Regions from separate parts of the Homo sapiens genome. Here region 1 is linked to region 2. The links are contacts of gene promoters, found by promoter capture Hi-C in blood cells and fetal thymus (Javierre and others, 2016). All regions are on one chromosome and are shown on one strand. The core of a region is centred on a gene start or on the middle of the fragment in contact, and the rest is flanking DNA. Distances in the headings are between cores, read along the strand shown. Region 1 holds the start of SLX4 (SLX4 structure-specific endonuclease subunit). Region 2 holds the start of TRR-CCG1-3 (tRNA-Arg (anticodon CCG) 1-3).

Evidence for each region. The method cuts DNA at HindIII sites, captures the fragments that hold promoters and counts their contacts. A CHiCAGO score of 5 or more calls a contact.
Region 1: the fragment with the promoter of SLX4 here is called in contact with a fragment that was not itself captured in region 2 in 1 of 17 cell types (megakaryocytes); the score reaches 5.9 in megakaryocytes.

Annotation. Positions count from the first base shown.
Region 1 is chr16:3,608,309-3,613,804 of GRCh38, reverse strand. SLX4 (SLX4 structure-specific endonuclease subunit) reads left to right here and starts at 2,199. Exons shown (of 15, transcript NM_032444.4): 1 at 2,199-2,245; 2 at 4,239-5,375. The coding sequence starts at 4,841. It also overlaps a transcript of DNASE1 not described here. RefSeq lists an enhancer at 1,882-1,951 and a silencer at 1,992-2,341. The HindIII fragment of the contact is 2,900 bases long and covers 1,812-4,711 here.
Region 2 is chr16:3,150,172-3,155,271 of GRCh38, reverse strand. It overlaps TRR-CCG1-3 (tRNA-Arg (anticodon CCG) 1-3), which reads right to left and starts at 4,598; the gene lies at 4,526-4,598. TRR-CCT3-1 (tRNA-Arg (anticodon CCT) 3-1) reads right to left here and starts at 2,372; the gene lies at 2,300-2,372. It also overlaps the pseudogene TRP-AGG6-1. RefSeq lists silencers at 2,205-2,344, 4,526-4,875. The HindIII fragment of the contact is 2,144 bases long and covers 2,492-4,635 here.

The sequences.
Region 1 (5,496 bases), core at 950-3,449, 460 kb before region 2:
TCCAGCCTGGGCAACAAGAGCCAAACTCCGTCGAAAACGAAGCAAGGAAGGGAAGGAAGGAAAGAGAAATTATTTCAACAGCACTGGCCTCTCCATGTCGTCACTCAGTCTCCTCTATAAATTCAAGTCCCAAGACACCCTGCCCTACCCTTGCCTCTGGGCTGCTTATCATTCTTGTTCTGTCTTCTTTATCCAGTTGGAAACCATATTACAAACTAACTTAGATTTCCAAGCCAGAGAGCAAGTAAACACCTCCTAAATCCTTCATCAAGGAAAACCTCTTGGAAGGTTTTGAAGCTCAACATTCAGAATCAAATGTAGTCTTACCCAGTAATTCCACTCCTAGAACACAAAAACTTGTGTTATGAACACGAATGTTCATAGCAGCATTATTTCTAACAGCCAAAAAGTAAAAACATCCATATGCCCATCACCTGATACATGGATAAACAAAACATGGTCCATCCAAACACGTGATTATGCAGCCATGAAAAGGCATGCAGTACTGATTCATCTACATGGATGAAATCTTGAAAACATGCTTAATAAAAGCCCAGCAGAAAAAGCCAAGTATCACATGATCCCATTTACATAAAATGTACTGAATACGCAAAACCACAGAGACAGAAAGCCGATAAGTGATTGCCAGGGGATGGGGTCGGGGGAATTGCGGAGTGACTACGAATGGGTACGGCAGGTTCGATTTGGGGTTTTAAAACGTTCTGGAATTAGCGACGATGGCTGCAAATCCTGTGAACGTACTGGAAACCACTGAATGTACACTTCTAGTGTGCATTTTATGATACTGTATCTTTTAAAAAACATATTGTCTGCCCTGCAAACTGATTCCTTTACACCTCTCCTGTGTTCATTATTTCAGTGACTGGAGGCACACTACTCTCAGATGTTAAGGCCAGAAACCGGCAAATCGTTAACAACTGCGTCTTGACTATGCTCCATATTTCTCCATTCTTTTCGCTCCACCTCCTAATTCGGGCCGCTCTCACTTTTCATCTAGATTATGTAATAGCCTCCTAATGGGTGTCCTTGCCTCATCTGTTCTCACTGTAATTAGGCCTTTAAAAACAAAATCTTACGCCGGGCGTGGTGGCTCACGCCTGTAATCTCAGCGCTTTGGGAGGCCGAGGCGGGAGGATCTCTTGCGGCCAGGGCTCGAGACCAGCCTGGGCAACATAGTGAGACTCCCCCCCCCGCCCCCACCGCCCGTCTCTACTTAAAAAAAAAAAAAAAAAAAGCCGTGAGCGGTGGCTCACGCCTGTAATCCCACCACTTTGGGAGGCCGAGGCGGGCGGATCACCTGAGGTCAGGAGTTGGAGACCAGCCTGGGCAACAGAGTGAAACCTAGTCTCTACTAAAAACACAAAAATTAGCTGGGCGTGGTGACTGGCGCCTGTAATCCCAGCTACTTGGGAAGGTGAGGCACAAGAACCGCTCGAACCCGGGAGACAGAGGTTGCAGTGAGCCGAGATCGCGCCACTGCACCCCAGCCTGGGCAACAAGAGCAAAACCCCGTCTCAAAAAACAAACAACAAAAAACCTTCAATGGCTCCCGACGACCCCAAGTTGAAGCTCAAACCCTTAATACGATGTGTAAAGTCCCTCAAATACCAAGCCATGGCAAACCTCTGCTACCTTTCCCCCAGGCCCTGGCTGGCTTCACCCTAGCCCTGCGGAAGAGCTCGGGCATCCCCTCCAGGCACCTGAAGCGCGGCAGAATCCCCTCTTCACGTAGCTAACCCTCCCCGACCTCCAGGCCTCGACTCTCACGCCACCCCACCTGAGAGGAAGCTTCTCGGGCCCCCAGGCCAGATTTGGTGCCTCTCCCGGTCCCCCTCACACCGTCCACTCTCCGCTCCACAGGCAGGTATGCCCAGAGGGGGCCGCCGTTGTATCCGCGAACATTTCCTGAGCCAGCTGGGGAGGAACCAGACTTTATCTCACAGCTGCCACAGTGCCTTAAACTCGCCCTAACTCTTTCTCAAAAACTAACAGACTCCACCTGAAGCAAGCGCCGCTTCCGCCTCGCCCCGCCTCCTGCCGACCGGAAGCGCTGGCCGCCGCGGGCCCGCGCCCGGCGCCGCAGAGGAAGACCGGAAGCGAGGCTGCCGCACCACCGCGCGCGCCCGCTCTGCGCCTGCGCGCAGGCAATGCTCCGCGGGGGCGCGGGCGGCGCATGCGCAGGCGCGCGAGTCTCCGTTAAGAAGGTGCCGCGGCGGCGCCGGAGGTAGGAGGAGCCGGGCTGTGGGGCTGGGAGTCGGCACCCGGGAGGCGGAGGTCCTGTCATTTCGGGCCGTTCTCTCTTTCCTAAGGGAGAAGAGCCTTTCTCGCCCGTCTCCCTCGCTGGCTCCGTGGCCTCGGCAGGCCCGCAGCCCCGACGGAGAGGCAGGAGCCGCACTCGGGTGGAGAGGGGCCGGGGCCCGCCTGGAGGGAGGAGGGTGGCGGATCCGGATCCCCACGGTGGTCTCCGTCCGGGCCAGTCCGGGGATCGGGGTTCTCCGTCTGACTTTAGAGCCGTTAGAGTCTTTGGCAGCCCTTTTCCCAGACGGGGAACCCCTCAGCCCCTTTCCGTAGGTCGCCGGGTTGGGGGAAGCGGGAGGGTCCGCCCCTTACCGATCCATTCATTCATCCCTCGCCTGCTGTGAGCCGTGGGCTGCGGTAGGTACGAAGCAAGGAGGCACAAGTCCCCTTCCCTCTGGAAACCTGCAGGCTTGCAGGATCCGTTATGTCATTCAGTAAATCTTGACTGGGCACCTATAGGAGGAGATAGACTGTTGTGAGGTTCATATCAACAGAGATGCGGAGATCAACACAGTTGTGGAGGTGGAATTTGTTCCAGCCGCTCCCCGCATCCAACAGGATAAAATTCACTTTGCCTAGCCTGACCTTCCAGGCCCTTGTGAGCCAATCCTTTCCTCTCCCCGCAGCGTTTTCTCCTACACCTTTCTCTCTACTCCCATTATACCGAACTCTTTGCAATTCATGAATTCAACAAGTAGTTGTGGAGCACTTATTTCAAGTCAGGCACCAGATCAGCCAAAGAGGTTGCAAAGTAATAGATGGATCTCTACCCTCCTGAAGTGTTGAGCTTAATGGGGGACAGATAATAAGCCGATGAATAAAAACACAAGAGCGGATAGTTTCGAACCACACTTCCTGGGTTTGATCCCAGCCCTGCCACTGTGAAAGCTGTTCCTGAACTGGCTTTAGGCCAGTTCCTCATTCTGCTTGCGCGTGTTTCCTTGCCGTAAAGACAGGATGACAAGAGATTCCACCATATAGGCTTCTTGTAAGGATTAAACGAGTTTGACTTGGAAAGCAATTGGAACAGTGCTTGGCACACAGTAAGCATTCGATAGATATTACCTGTTTCATATGATGATAACCTATGACAGATGCCATTGTGAAAACAGTGGGCGATGATAGGGATTAACGGGGATGGAGACGGTCCATAAAGGATTAGAGGACACTTCTCTAAGGGGAAGACACAGAAGAGAATGCGCCAGCCATACAAAGTAGATTCTAGGTAGGAGTATTTTCAGCTCTGGAAAACAAAATGATTAATTAGATTCCTTGGACAGTGGAGATTGCATTATTGTATTTGAAAGGAATAACTTTCTGCCATTGGGTCATTCAGTTTTGATTTTTGAACCCCACTTAGCTGTGTGCCAAAGTAAACAACCATGCTCACGAGGCCCAGCCTTTGCACACAGGCGACATTCCAGTCATCCAGGTTTGGAGAGCCTTGCTGGGTTGAGAAGATAAGTAAAAGTGACCTTTTCTCTCCTGAGTGTTCATGAGAATATAATGTCTCTTTCTGTCTCTTATGTTGCAGTATTTACAGAAAGAGCCTCTTTAACAGCCAGGGGTCTTAGATCAGTGTAGGAGATAGTTTTCCTAGATTTGGGGATCATCCTGTTTCTGTGGTGACTGCCTTTTATGGGGTTTGCTCCCTAAATTTCAGTTAAGAAAACACTCTCCCAAGATGCACATATTTTAATACCTGTGGAAGAACAACATGCTTTGACAGGTTTCTAGGTCCTTTTGTTGTGATGTCTGATAGGACGGTTAGACCATGTTAACCAGGCTGGACTGAGTATTTGACAGTATTGTTACTCCGAAGACTTTTCCCTCACCCCACATGCCCTTGTCCCTCCCTGGAAGAACTGGCATAAAATGACAATGTCTGATTACACTTACATGCTTTTGGTTTTCCACAGATGTGTAATTAAGTGAACCATATATGTTTCATCATCATGGAGATCTTGGAGAATTATCTGAGCACCAGGTTCATATGTATTCGATCTCAGAGGCATCTATTGGACAACAAAACACTCTTTCAGTTGTGAACTTTATTTATTTATTATTATTATTTTTTGAGACAGAGTTTTGCTCTTGTTGCCCAGGTTAGAGTGCAGTGGCACGATCTCGGCTCACTGCAATCTCCGCCTCCCAGGTTCAAGCGATTCTCTTGCCTCTGCCTCCCGAGTAGCTGGGATTACAGGCATCTGCTACCACGCCTGGCCAATTTTTTGTATTTTCAGTTGAAACGAGGTTTCACCATATTGGCCAGGCTGGTCTCGAACTTCTGACCTCAGGTGATCCACCCCCCGCCTCGTCCTCCAAAAGAGCTGGGATTACAAGTGTGAGCCACCGCGCCCGGCCCAGTTGTGGACTTTAACAGAGGGAAGCTTTAAACATGTTTAACCACAGGCCCAATTTGAACAAAGATACTTCAATCATTATAGAGAGGAAAACAGTACTTTTTGTTCAATTGTGCAAACTCTCCAAGTATCTAATGGAGAAGTAGAGAAGAACCCTAATGAAACTGAGTGTGAATGAGGCTCAGCTAGGCTTCTACTTGGGTTCACTTTCTCATCTGTCTGCCTGTCCTGGGATTGACCCTCGCTCCTCTGAAGACCAGCCTGAAAGCCTTAAAACTGGTCAGATGATGGATGAGTCTGATGAGGACTTTAAAGAACTCTGCGCTAGCTTTTTCCAAAGGGTGAAAAAACATGGAATCAAGGAAGTGTCAGGAGAAAGGAAGACACAAAAGGCTGCCTCAAACGGCACTCAGATAAGAAGCAAATTGAAAAGGACCAAACAAACTGCTACCAAGACCAAAACCCTTCAAGGCCCTGCAGAGAAGAAACCTCCGTCTGGCAGCCAGGCCCCTAGGACTAAAAAGCAAAGGGTAACCAAATGGCAAGCAAGTGAACCGGCCCACTCTGTGAATGGGGAGGGGGGTGTGCTTGCCTCTGCTCCAGATCCACCTGTGCTCCGGGAAACAGCACAAAACACCCAGACGGGTAACCAGCAAGAACCATCGCCAAACCTTTCCAGAGAGAAAACCAGAGGTAATTTGTACTCTTTTAAACCAGGGGCTGGAAAACTTCCTGGAAAGGGCCAGATCGTAAATATTTTGGCTTTGTAGGCCACACAGACTCTGTCACAACTACTCAACTCTGCTGTCATAGT
Region 2 (5,100 bases), core at 2,314-4,813:
GAGAAAACAGCCTACATGACAAAACAAAACAGAAACAAAACAAGTTTGGCTACTTTAAGCCATCATAAGGAGGATGGGATATGATTTTGTATCTGGTGAATTTATCCATCTGGGTGCATATCCCAAAGAGCCTATAGTTAATATGTTATCTCATGCAGCTGACCATGGCCCTACCAGGTTTCTTGGTTGGTTGGCTGAAAATTGAACTCAGTGGTGGCCTATGTTTAATGAGACCGGGCTGCCAGAACGTCTCAGGCAAACTGTAGAGAAAGAAACCTAAAGACACCAAGCAATGTTGGAGTGCATCTTTCACGCATGATGTGCATACCACTGAGAAGACCAGAGGACACTCCCTTTCTTTCTTTCTTTCTTTTTCTCTTTTCTCTTTTTTTTGAGACGGAGTCTTACTCTGTCGCCCAGGCTGGAGTGCAGTGGCACGACCTCAGCTCACTGCAACCTCTGCCTCCCGGGTTCAAGCGATTCTTCTGCCTCAGCCTCCCAAGTAGCTGGGACTACAGGCGAGCGCCACCACACCCGGCTAATTTTTGTATTTTTAGTAGAGATGGGGTGTCACCATATTGGCCTGGCTGCTCTAGAACTCCTGACCTCGTGATCCGCCTGCCTCGGCCTCCCAAAGTGCTGGGATTACAGGTGTGAGCTACCGCACCAGGCCAGGACACTCCCTTTCACAAGGCCTCCCGAAAAAATCCATCACTGAAGCATCAGCTTCCTTAAGTAGCTCTCTGGTGGCCATTCTCTACAGGTGGCCTATGATGGTGGAAGGTAATGCCATTGAGGTGTGGAAGGTAACGCCACTGAGGTGTGGAAGGTAACCCCATTGAGGTGTGGAAGGTAACCCCATTGAGGTGAGGAAGGTAATGCCATTGAGGTGAGGAAGGTAATGCCATTGAGATGTGGAAGGTAACCCCATTGAGGTGAGGAAGGTAACCCCATTGAGGTGTGGAAGGTAATGCCATTGAGGTGAGGAAGGTAACCCCATTGAGGTGTGGAAGGTAATGCCATTGAGGTGAGGAAGGTAACCCCATTGAGGTGAGGAAGGTAATGCCATTGAGGTGAGGAAGGTAACCCCATTGAGGTGTGGAAGGTAACGCCATTGAGGTGAGGAAGGTAACCCCATTGAGGTGAGGAAGGTAACGCCATTGAGGTGAGGAAGGTAATGCCATTGAGGTGAGGTCCCTGATTTCAGTGGAGATGATGGGGTCCAGGATGTTTGGGGAACTGGGAGAAGCCAGGCCAGAGCTGGAAAAACAGAAGAGTCCCAATTATGAGTTTTATTTATTTATTTATTTATTTTGAGACGGAGTCTCTGTCACCCAGGCTGGAGTGCAGTGGCGCGATCTCCGCTCACTGCAACCTCCACCTCCCGGGTTCAAGTGATTCTCCTGCCTCAGTCTCCTGAGGAGCTGGGATTACAGGCGCGTGCCCCCACGCCCGGCTAATTTTTCTATTTTTAGTAGAGACGGGGTTTCACCGTGTTGGTCAGGCTGGTGCGTGATCGTGATCCGCCCGCCTCGGCCTCCCAAAGTGCTGGGATTACAGGCGGGAGCCACTGCGCCCGGGCCAATTATTGGTTTTAAAGGCAAAAGCCAACCATGTTTTTATACATATTTATGACAAAACTCCAGCAGTGGTCCCCATCAGAGCGGCTTCTGATTTTACTTTACACCATGTCCTGTAGTTCGGGAAATTTTTACCTTGAAGATGGCATCATATATTGCATGGATTTAAAAAAAGAATACTATGGACTATTTCAAATATGTATTAAAAGAGAGAAAATAGTGCAATGTCCCCTCATGTCCCCCATTATCTACTCATGGATAAGTAGTTTCATCTATACCGCCATCCATCTTATGATTTCTTTTTTTTTTTTTTTGAAACGGAGATTACAGGCTGGGATTACAAGTTTAAGCCAGCGCACCTGGCCTCAGTTTTATGATTTTTAAAACAAACCAGTTGTCTTGTAATTTAATCTGTAAATAATTGTGTTTATAAAAAAAAGGATTTAAAAAATATTTGTAACCATAATAGAATTAACAAACCTGGAAAAATAAACAATCATTCCTTTCTATCAAGTTAAATGGATGGTACTTAACATCCTGTAAAAGATTCGGCTCCTTTTTTCTGTAACGTGAAATTGTGCTCGTCTTCCTTGAAAACAGGTAGAGGTTTCTGATTTAGAGCCTTTTTGGTAACCCTTCGGAAACTCCGCACCTCCACTGGAGTATACCGCATTCTAACTCTTCTGCCCGATAAGGAACACTAAAATTCGGCCTTTCTTTACCCCGGGTGGGACTCGAACCCACAATCCCTGGCTTAGGAGGCCAATGCCTTATCCATTAGGCCACCGGGGCGGATAACAAAACGCTGTCGCTTGTCTTAGACCAGTTTCTCCATCACTCCGCGGTGGTTCCTGCACAGCCTGCCCGTCCTACCCTGGCCTTTCTCCCGCCCCTCCACTGCAATCCAAGCTTCGGTTCAGATCTCGTCCGCTCCTGAGCATCCTCGGGACCCCAAAGAGACGGCGCACGTGCAGAGGGACCTGAAAGACACCGAACGTCAGATTTTTGGCTCCGCTCTTTGGTCTAGGGGTATGATCTTCGCTTAGGGTGCGAGAGGTGCCTGGATCAACTCCTTCACAAGCCGTCGTCTCCACTCAGGAGACAACCCAAGTCTAGGGGTAATTAGTAGCGAATGATGCACTTGCGATGGGTAGAGTGTATGGGAAGGGGCACGCGATGCCAGCTCAGCAACTGGCTCCTCATCCCGAGCCCGCCGCTTCTGGAAGTGTCGGTCTTCGTCCTCCTCCCCCGCATTGTCCGTTAGACCAAGGGTGCCGCCCAGTGGTCGGAAGCCTCTTAATAATGACCCTCCAAAATCCGCCCTCTACATCCCCAGCTGGCTAGGTGTTAATCTCAGGATCGCCACGTTGGGTGTTTACTTTCCTGCCCCAACACGTGTGTTATTTTCCTTTTTTAAAAAATCTGTATTTTAATGACGTTCTTTTCCTTTAATACCTAGTAAACGCTTCAGTCCAGGAGTTCGAGACCATCATGGGCAAAATAGTGAGCGCCCCGTCTCTACCAAAAACAAATACCTTCGTAAACCACTGAAACATCAAAAAAAATTAAAGGAGAAAGTGACACCCTGCACGACGCCAGGTCACCAGCGTCCGCCGACCGGAGGCCATGCCTGCAGCTGCGACTCTCCGCAGCCTTCACCCCGTGGAAGGATACCCCACCCCGTGGAAGGATACCCCAAGAGGCGCTGCTCGGCACCCGGACTAAACTCGGGTTCCGCTGGTAGACATTTTTTTTCCCCTCGGCGAAATATTAACTCAATCCTGGAGATACTCTTTGAATTTTATTTTATTTTATTTTATTTTATTTTATTTTATTTTATTTTATTTTATTTTATTTATTTTCTATTTTGAGACGGAGTCTCGCTCTGTCGCCCAGGCTGGAGTGCAGTGGCGCGATCTTGGCTCACTGCAGCCTCCGGCCTCCCGGGTTCAAGCGATTCTCCTGCCTCAGCCTCCTGAGTAGCTGGGAGTACAGGCGCGCGCCACCACGTCCCGCTAATTTTTGTATTTTTAGTAGAAACGGGGTTTTACCATGTGAGTCAGGCTGGTCTGGAACTCCCGACCTCATGATTCGCCCGCCTCGACCTCCCAAAGTGCTGGGATTAGAGGCGTGAGCCACCGCGCCCGGCTCATCACCACTATAATCGTTTTCTTTTTTACTTTGTTACCCCATGATCAGTTGATACAAAGTTTTTCATCACAATAATCAATTAAACTACACATGTCGCCGGGCGCGGTGGCTCACGCCTGTAAGCCCAGCACTTTGGGAGACCGAGGCTGGACGATCACCTGAGGTCGGGAGTTCGAGACCAGCCTGGCCAACATGGAGAACCCACCCCCGCCCACCCCCCCACCCTACTAAAAATACAAAAATTAGCCGGGCCTGGTGGCGCATGCCTGTAATCCCAGCTACTCGGAAGGCTGAGGCAGGAGAATCGTTTGAACCCGGGAGGCGGAGGTTGCAGTGAGCGGAGATCAAGACATTGCACTCCAGCCTAGGCAACAAGAGCGAAACTCCGTCTCAAAAAAAAAACAAAAACAAAAACAAAAAACTACAGGTGTCCTTTGATCCCTTGGGGCAACTCCTCACAGCAAGCAATCCCAGCCCCGCGTCTGTCACGGTTTCCATCACCTGAACGTTAATTTGTGAAGTCAATCCCCTACCAGATCCCAGGACCTGCGTTCTCTGGCTTCAAGCTCCGCAGTCCGCCAGGGCCCTGCCGGCGTTCTCTAAGTCGCCCTCGCTGCTATTCTGGCCCTGGGTCCTTAGCTTCGCGACTGGAGGCGCAGGGCGAGGTCCCAGTGTTCCTACGGGGGTGAGGGGAGAGCGACCGGCGCACTCAGTTCGAGTGTCGTAGTCGCCCAGGGTGCAGTCCCAGGTGAAGAAATTTTAAGTGGAGCTGGAAGAAAACGTTAACATGGCAACGACCACGAAGGGACTCGAACCCTCAATCTTCTGATCCGGAATCAGACGCCTTATCCATTAGGCCACGCGGCCCTGCGGCTGTATGGCTCCCAGCTATTCTCATAAAGCTTTCTATAGCCTATGCTGTCGCTTTAACGCGCATGCTTAGAGTGAGGGGAGGCCGGTCCTTCCGAGGCTCCCGGTGGGCGGGACTCCGAGCTGGGCCACCGCGCCGGGCCGCTGAGGCTGCTGGGTGGAAACCGCCGCCGCGGGCCCGGGACTGTGAGTTCGAGCCCTGGCGAGCCCGCCCTACCCCACCCTCCCCGCAGCAGGCCCCTCCGAGACGCCGTTTGGGAGCGCTTTCCCCCATGTGCCTCCCGCCGCTTTGGGTCAGGGGCTGCAAGCTGCTTGCCCAGCCCCTGTGCTTGCTCCATCACGGTGAACCTGCAAAGGTGTGTTTCAGAGGCTTTTGGCCCCAGACTTTATTCTGGCCGCCTGGAAAGCGGAGGCCGTGTCTCCTGAGTTTCTATGGCCCAGCGCGGGGTGGAGGTGGGGCGCGCATACACAGGGACATGTCTGGGAGAGGGATATGCGT